Regions from separate parts of the Homo sapiens genome. Here region 1 is linked to region 2. The links are contacts of gene promoters, found by promoter capture Hi-C in blood cells and fetal thymus (Javierre and others, 2016). All regions are on one chromosome and are shown on one strand. Each heading gives the region's core, a stretch centred on a gene start or on the middle of the fragment in contact. The rest is flanking DNA. Distances are from core to core; before and after follow the strand shown.

Region 1 (4,535 bases), core at 1,518-4,017, 540 kb before region 2:
GGGGTCTCTGTCACCCAGGGTAGAGTGCAGTGGCATGGTCACACCGCAGCAGTGAACCCCTGGGCTGAAGCCACCCTCCTGCCTCAGTCTCTAGAGTAGCTGGGACTACAGGCCCAACACCACTTTTTCTTTCTGCCTTTTTTTTTTTGTAGAGATGGGGTGTCGCTGTGTTGCCCAGGCTGGTCTTGAACTCCTGGCCTCAAGCAATTCTCCCACCTTAGCCTCCCAAAGTGCTGGGATTACAGGTGTGAGCCACTGTGCTTGGCCCCATTTTTACAGAGAAACTGAGACCCAGATATATTGTGACTTGCTTAAGATGTCACTACGAATAAGGGGACACGCCGAGATTCAAACCTAGATCTCTTTGACTCAAAAACCCTGTTTTATTACTTTTTCCTTTATGAAAACTACACCACGCAGGCTCGCCTGAGTCCTCATAACATCTTTATTGCTAATTAAGAAAAGGCGGCTTCCTTCAGCTGAAGCAGCTCTGAGCCAGATGCCAAAGGGGCAAGGACTAGATTTCAGCCAGCCTCCCTTACCAGATGTCACGTCAGCTGAGCACATTTTCAGAGGACATGCCACCTGTATAACCTCCATGACCTGTGGAGTCTGGTGGCCCTGACTCCACACTGGCACCAGGAGCCTCAGGTCCTGACTCAAGCCTTGCCATTAACTCGCTGTGTGACCGTGGGTAAGTCACTCCCCTTCTCTGGGCTTCTGGGCCCTCATTTGTAAAATAAGGTCATTGGACTGAACATCAAACATCCCTCCCGATCTGAACATTTTTGTGAGCTTGTGGAACACTAAATTGGATTAAATTGCAGCATCAGTTTAGCATCTGATTATATTACATGGCTTTGATTCATTACCTCTTTCATGATTGTATAGGCGAGTAGATGGGAGGTCACATTTATCTCAAACACCTCTAGGGCCAACCAGGTATGTAAATAAATAAAGCAGGCAAATATAAGAAAAGTAATGAGGCTTTCAAAAATTTGCCCACTTGAGATAAAAACAGTCCAGAGAACTATTTCTCTGAAGAGGTGCAAGCATAAAGAACATAGCAATTGCCCCTCTCTGTCACTATGGAAGTGAGGAGTAGGGCTGGAGGCAAACGCAGGAGCCCCTAGGAGCCCTTGCTCTGATCAAGGAAGCCGCTGTTAGTAACGCCAGGGACAGTTGCTGTATAGAAACACAGGCCCATTGTTTCTAGAGCTTCTGTGCTATCAAGAGATGCTGGAAATCTAGATGTTTAAGCAACACCTCTTGATTTTTTTTTTTTTTTTTTTTGAGACGGAGTCTTGCACTATTATCCGGGCTAGAGTGCAGTGGCGCGATCTCGGCTCACTGCAACCTCCTCTGTCTCCTGGGTTAAGAGATTCTCCTGCCTCAGCCTCTCAAATAGCTGGGATTACAGGCGTCCGCCACCACGCCCAGCTAATTTTTTGTATTTTTAGTAGAGACAGGGTTTCCCCATATTGGCCAGGCTGGTCTCGAACTCCTGACCTTGTGATTCGCCCACCTCAGCCTCCCAAAGTGCTGGGATTACAGGTGTGAGTCACCGCGCCCAGCTCACCTCCTGATTTTTAAATGTTGGTTACTTTTGGGTTTTCTAAACCCACCGCAGTTCAAATAAAACATTTGTTTTCTACTTTTATCTTCAGTTTCCCCTGATTCGCCTCCCTTCCCAGGTTGATATCTTAGAAAATGTGAATACCCATTCATTAATTCAGTAACTCTTTGTTGAGTCCCTATCATATACCTGGGATTTATCAAGAGAGACACCCTAGTTACTGGATTCAGAGACCAGAGTGCTAACCATTACCACTGCCCTAGTTATTTCTTTCGGCTTCTTGGCAAAGCAAACAATTTAGTATTTTTCATATGAGCACATACACAAAATATTAACATATATAGAAAGTATTTGCCTAAGCACAGACATGAAGCTTATTAAAAGAAAATTTCACTTTTACTGAGTTGAAATGAACAGCAAGTTCAAAATAATAATGTGATTTGTTAATTGGGGAACTCAATGAAAGCGTTGTTTTTCATTAGCCTTGTTATTTTTAATCTGAGCGTTAATTCACTGGGCATTTTCTTTAATTACCTTAATTGGTTTTAAATTGATTGTTTTTCAACTCACTAAAAGTGTGTTTAGCCTCATTTCCCTTAAAATAATATCTCTTTATCAAGCATGTTTTACTCTGGGCCAGAGAGGAAATCAGAATACAGTAGCTCTCTGTTTTAAAACGGCTCTGTTCAAATGTGCTTTTAAAAAGCAGGTCCCAGGGCAGAGGGGAAAGGAGGGTGTGGGGCAGAGGCACAGCCAGGAGCCTGGTAGAGTGAGGAATATGTAGTTTCGGAACACTTATTACTATAGAATTCTTGCTGGGTAACGGGGCACTGCATTAGTTACAAGGATTGTTAATAATAAACATGAAAAGCAATATGTATAAGACACACGTTATTAATAGTAAGCATTATGTCATAGTTATTCGTAGTAAATTATTAGTAGTAAGAACTGACACCTTCTACGCACTATCTCTGTGTCTGATGCCTTGCTAATTGCTTCACCTGCATTTATCTCATGGACAAGCACCCCATCCTTAAACATGGAAGCTGTTATTTCCTCCTTTACACTGAGGAAACTGAGGCCCCGAGAAGTAATATGACTTGCCTAACACTGCAAAGGCAGTGAGATACGGAACTGGATTCAAACACACTAGATCTGCCTGAAGGAGAATACTAATGTGTATTTTATACAGGCATACCTTGTTTTATTGTGGTCCATTTTATTTCAGTTTGCAGATACTGTGTTTTTTCTAAATTGGAGGGTTGTGACGACCTTGCATTGAGCAAGTCTGTCAATGCTGTCCTTCCAACAGCATGTACTCATGTGGTGTCTGTGCCTCACATTTGACAATTGTCACAAATTTCAAACTTTTAAATTATTATTATATCTGTTATGGTGATCCGTAATCAGTGATCTTTGATACTACTATTGTATTAATAATTGTTTTTGGGTGCCATGAACCACACCCATATAAGACAGTGAACTGGCCGGGCGTGGTGGCTCATGCCTGTAATCCCAGCACTTTGGGAGGCCAAGGCAGGCGGATCACAAGGTCAGCAGATCGAGACCATCATGGCCAACATGGTGACGTCCCTTCTCTACTGAAAATACAAAAAAATTAGCTGGGTGTGGTGGCATGCACCTGCAGTCCCAGCTACCCGGGAGGCTGAGGCAGGAGAATCGCTTGAGCCCAGGAGGCAGAGGTTGCAGTGAGCTGAGATTGTGCAACTGTACTCCAGCCTGGGCAAAAGAGCTAGACTCCATCTCAAAAAACAAACAAACAAACAAACAAAAAAAGACAGTGAACTTACTTGATAAATGTGTGTGTTCTGGCTGCCCCATTTACCAGCCATTTCCCTATCTCTCTTCCTGTCCTTGGGCCTCCCTTTCCCCTAGACACAACAATATTGAAATTGGACCAGTTAAGAACCCAATAATGGCCTCTAAATATTCAAGTGAAAGGGAAAGTCACACATCTCTTACTTTTAAATAAAAAAACTAGAAATGATTAAGCTTAGTGAGGAGGGCATGTTGAAAGCCAAGACAAGCTGAAAATTAGGCCTCTTGCACCAGAAAGTTAGCTAAGTTGTGAATGTGAAGGAAAAGTTCTTGAAAGAAATTAAATGTGCCACTCCAGTGAACACACAAATGATAAGAAATCAAAACAGCCTCATTGCTGATACGGAAAAATTTGAGTGGTCTGGAAAGAAGATCAAACCAGACGCAACATTGCCTTAAGCCAAAGCCTAATCCAGAGCAAGGCCCTAACTACTTTCAATCCTATGAAGGCTGAGAGAGGTGAGAAAGCTAAAGAAGAAAAGTTGGAAGCTAGCAGAGGTTGGTGGGTGAAGTCTCAGGAAAGAAGCCATCTCCATAACAAAAACTGCAAGGTGAAGCTGCAAGTGCTGACGAAGAAGCTGCAGCAAGTTATCCAGAAGAACTAGCTTAGATTATTGATGAAAGTGGCTGTGCTAAACAACAGATTTTCAGTGTAGATGGAACAGCCTTCTATTGGAAGAAGATACTATCTAGGGCTTTCATAGCTAAAGAGGAGAAGTCAATGCCTGGCTTCAAAGCTTCAAAGGATAGGCTGACTCTCTTGTTGGGGCTAGTGCAGCCGGTGACTTAGAGTTGAAGCCAGTGCTCATTAACCATTCTGGAAATCCTAGGGCCCTTAAGAATGATGCTAAATCTACTCTGCCTGTGCTGTGTAAATGGAAAAACAAAGCCTGGATAACAGCATAGTATTTCCAATATGGTTCATTGAATATTTTAAGCCTACTGTTGAGACCTAGTGTTCAGAAAAAAGATTCTTTTCAAAATATTACTGCTCATTGACAATGCATCTATCCACACAATAGTTCTGATGGAGATGTACAAGATAATTTTGTTTTCATGCCTTTTAATACATATCACGTCTTTTAGTTCATGGATCAAGGAGTAATTTAAAATCTGAGGT
Region 2 (4,688 bases), core at 1,038-3,537:
GTACCTAAGTTGGAGTATTATTGGACAACTAGAAGAGAATGTATATACATAATAGACACTCAAAAAAGGGAAGCAGTAGTCTTCGTGGCTATTATTATTAAAAGCTCCTCACAAAAGCTGACTCAACTCGAATTCCAAAACTCATTTTCAGGTGCAGTCATGAAACTTAAAGGTGAGAGAAATGAATACTTTTAAGATATCTACTATGCACCAGGCACAGTACAAAGCACTACTTCATTTGTGAGGTAGTGTAGTGGATACCGTGGGGAAATGCTCAACTCCCCCTCCAAGACCAAGACACTCATGACTTCCCCATGTCCAGCTGCCAGAGTGTTGGTTACCCCAGCTCCCAGGTGAGTCCCTAGTCAGGAACTGTCCTGCTGAAGGGACATCCTAGCTCCCTCCCTAGGACCAGCCTGCACCCACTGGCTGATCAACATTAAGCTTCAAAGGCCTCGTCTCTTTGTCTCATGGGAGGGATTGAGACCTCTCTTGCACTGCACCATAGATCAACATCTCCCTCTGCCCAGTTCTGCTTCCCTTATCTGCACAAAAATCTCAGAAGCGCCAAGTCTTTTTCCAGGGAACCCAAACCATGACAGGTGAGTACAATGATTTCCTTTTAAATCAGAAAAAGAAGGTTCATGAAGGTTGCTAATGTCCCCAAAGCCTATGGCTAAAGTGACTTTCTGGTCTGATTTCCCAGCGAGCCCTTGTTCTTTCTACTACACCAATCTACACACAGCCTTGCCTCCAATGGCTGAGACTGGATCTCTGTGAAACAGAAAGGGGAGCCCAGGCAGAGGGGAAGGGCACACAGAGGGCTTGAAGATGAGAAAAGAAGAGCAGAGGCACCCTTCAGAGGCCTGATGACAAGACTGAGGTCACAGGCTCCAGAAACAATATCAAAATGATGTGCAGGCTGCAGAAGCAAGCATTACACGGGCAGCATCTCTTTGCCTGAATCCATGTCCAGAAGCCAGGGAGCAGGGCTCCCGGGCAGAGGGGGCTCCCTTAAGCAGGGAAGAGTATTTGCAGCCAAGGACCAGAAAACAACTACAACTTACCAGCTTTCTGATGCTCCGGCCTCCATCCATTGTCCCCAGAGCTGCCAGAGGGACCTGATCACTGATCAGAATTCTTCCACGGCCCTCCTTCATTCCAGGATAAAATTCTAAATATTCTAAGGCTGCACTTTAAGGTCTGTGCAGGTTTTAGCTTCCTGCCATGTCGAGAGCTCATTTCCTACCTACAGCAAGACCCGGTCCTACTCCATTATCTGCTGTAGAATTATCTGATGTGCTAGGTCAGGACACCGGACCTTTTCAGTTTCTTTACCTTTACACAAGAAAACCCACCTGGAATTCCTGCTCCCTATCAACTCACAGTCCCAACACACTTTTCAGCCTGGCAAAACCTCCGACTTCCAGTCAATGCTCACCTCCTCTCTGAAACCTTCCTGGCTTCCTCACCGTCCTCTTCTCCATCTCGAGTCTTCCGCACTACCCTGCACTGCAATTGCTCCTCCTACTGTCCCTCTTAGCCCCAGAAGCTCCCCAAAGGCCATTCTTCATGCTGCTAGGGCTTGGCACAGTTCCTGGCACTCAGAAAAAGCCAAGTAAGTGCTGGATAGATACACGAGGTGCTGTATCCATAGCTATTCTCTGCTTCTAGCTTGGCCAGGAAACCACTCTGAAATTTCATCCTGCCCCCAGGATGACTGGAAATCGGAAATGGCATGACAAACCTGACCTCCCAAACCCAAGGCAACAGGTCATGAGGGGTCTGGGGACCTAAGGCAGGTCCTAGGAGCCGGCGCAGAGCAGAGGTCCGGCCGCTGCGGTTCCTGGTTTCCCGCAAGCTCTTCCCCGGGCCGGGCGCTGGGTGGAGGCAGTCTTAGGATCCACAGTCTTGCGCGCCCCCGGCTCCCGGGCCCGGCAGACGGCCCCCGCACGCCGATCTGTCTGTCCCAGGGACCGGCCCAGGGCCCCGGCAGCGGCAGCCTGGGGAGACACCGTGGTGCGCGGCTCCTTGCCTCCCTCCCTGCCCCTCCGTGCGCCCGCATCCCGCGGACACAGAGCCGGAGCTCCAGGGGACGCAGCCCGACGCGAGAACGCACCAGCAGCCCCCGCTCGAGGTGGGGTCTCCCGGCTGTCAGAAACCCCACAAAGTCTACTTTGCGGCGCCGCGCCGCTTACCGTGCGAGCCGCCAGGAACTCGGCGCCCGGTGGTGCCTCGGCGCGGCGCCCGCCAGTCGATCCGCTCCGGGTCCCGGGAGCTCAGCCTCTGCCCCTCAACGCGCGCGAGCGCCCCCGCCCGGCGGCCCGGCCTCCCCGCGCCGCGGCGCCCCATTGGCTCGGGCAACGAGGCCCCCGGACGGCCCCGCCCACCCGCGCCCACTCCCTCGCCCACGCCTCTCCCCAACGCCTTGCTGGGTTCACCTCTCCAGGCAGGGAAAGTTGCTTCTAGACTCTGAGCTCTCACCGGACTCAGGAGCCCAGTTAGCTAATAATTCTGGGTCCCAGGAGTGTCTAGACGCCCCTCGGGGAGTGCGAAGAATGCAGTGTCCTTGGAATCCACCTTTGGGAAAGTCAGCTGACCTCCCGGACCTCAGGTGGCACCTCAGAGAAACCAGGGCCCCTTGTCAGGAAATGTCCCAGGTTGTGGGCTAGGCCCTAGGGCCAGGATGCAACAGGGAACAAGACAAAGTCTATCGTCCTCGTGGACTTTGCATGGGGTGGAGGTGGGGGTAGGTTATATACAACAAACGAAAAAAACAAGAGAATGTCGGCTGGGTGCCTGTGGCTCACGCCTGTAATCCCAGCACTTTGGGAGGCCGAGGCAGGTGAATCACGAGGTCGGGAGTTCAAGACCAGCCTGGCCAAGATGATAAAACCCCGTCTCTACTAAAAATACAAAAATTAGCTGGGCATGGTGGCCCTCACCTGTAGTCCTAGCTACTCGGGAGGCTGAGGCAGAATTGCTTGGACCCGGGAGGTGGAAGTTACAGTAAGCCGAGTTAGAGCCACTGCACTCCAGCCTGGGCAACAGAGCTAGATGCCGTCTCCAAAAAAAAGAAAAGAAAAAGAAAGGGGTCTAGGACTGCTATACCTAGGGTGGTCTCCGGGCCGCTTGTGATATTGGATACTTGGAGGACAAAAACGATTCCAGGGCTGAAGCAAGAGCATTGCTGACAGAGGGGTCGGCCGATGCATGGTTCTGAAGCTGGAACTGGCCCCCAGGGTGGCTGAGTGAGGTGAGCAAGGGGAGAGTGGGTTACAGCCAGAGAGGTAGACTAGTGTGGAATCACCATCACCCAGAACCTTGTAGGCCACCGTGAGGGTCAGGGCTTTGTCATATCAATCTGGAGGGAACAATTCAGGCAAGAGATTATGGTGATGAAGACCAGGGTGGTGACAGCAAGATACGGAAAAGGTGGACCTCCTGCAATGTGTGTCAAAAGTAGCACAGGAAGGCTTGATGATGGATTAGGCTGGATTTAGGGGATGCTATGGTTTAAATATGTTCCCCAAAGTTCATATCTTGGAAACTTAATCCCCAATGCAACAGTGTTGAGAGGTGGGACCTTTAAGAGGTGATTCCATTAATGCCAGGAGTGGCCCTCTCCCCACCCCTCTGCTGCTCTCTTGTTCTGCCTTGTGCCATGGGGTGACTCAGCATGAAGGCCCTTACCAGATGCAGCCCCTCAATCTTGGACTTCCCAGCCTCCAGAGCCATGAGCTAAATAAATTGTTGTTCCTTATAAATTACCCAGTCTGTGATATTCTGTTATATTGGCACAAAATAGACTATGACAGGGGTTGACGTAAAGGGATGAAAGAAGAAAATCTCCTAGGTGTTTAGCTTGAGCCACTGTGGAGTAATGGTACTATTTCCAAGATCGGGAAGGTTCTTACCCAGCATCTTCCACTTACTGCATGAGCGTTAGTACATGATCTCAGTAACTAAGAGGGAGTGACTCTAACCTCAGTAACTAAGAGGGCATAAGACTAGCTGAAGGATCACAAACTTTAATACCGACGTGGCCGGGTAGTCATGTACTAAGTGAGGTTGGCAGGGTATAATAGAAAGGAGGGATGGGGCTTGTGACAGACTGAGGTATGCACACCTGCCTAAGGTGACAGTCACTGCTCAGCTCCAACTGATTTTTGCCATATGTGAATGGAGACCCACCCAGAGTTGCCAGATGTTCTGTTTTTTGTTTGTTTGTTTTTTATCGAGACTGAGTCCTGCTCTGTCACCCAGGCTAGAGTGCAGTGGTGCGATCTCAGCTCACCGCAACCTCCGCCTCCCTGGTTCAAGCAATTCTCCTGCCTCCCAAGCAGCTGGAATTACAGGCGCCCACCACCACGTCTGGCTAATTTGTGTATTTTTAGTAGAGACAGGGTTTCACCATGTTGGCCAGACTGGTCTCGAACTTCTAACCTCGTGATCTGCCCACCTTGGCCTCCCAAAGTGCTGGGATTATAGGCGTGAGCCACCACACCAGACCCTGATTTTTATTAAGAGGCCAGAAATTCAGATTATGTTAAATCTCTGGTTTTTTTAAATGCTGGTAATTAACTACAACTTTTTTTTTTTTTTTTTCTGAGACGGAGTCTCGCTCTGTCGCCCAGGCTGGATTGCAGTGGATTGTCGAGATTGCAGTGGTGCAATCTCGGCTCACT

Evidence for each region. The method cuts DNA at HindIII sites, captures the fragments that hold promoters and counts their contacts. A CHiCAGO score of 5 or more calls a contact.
Region 1: a contact is called between a fragment that was not itself captured here and the fragment with the promoter of SYN3 in region 2, in 1 of 17 cell types (fetal thymus). The highest score is 5.3, in fetal thymus.

The regions. Positions count from the first base shown.
Region 1 is chr22:32,520,170-32,524,704 of GRCh38, forward strand. The region is part of intron 12 of SYN3 (synapsin III); the gene reads right to left. Among named protein-coding and RNA genes, the nearest start is that of FBXO7, 48 kb to the left of the region's middle. The HindIII fragment of the contact is 1,640 bases long and covers 1,948-3,587 here.
Region 2 is chr22:33,056,094-33,060,781 of GRCh38, forward strand. SYN3 (synapsin III) reads right to left here and starts at 2,288. Exons shown (of 14, transcript NM_003490.4): 1 at 2,199-2,288. The HindIII fragment of the contact is 6,835 bases long and covers 443-4,688 here.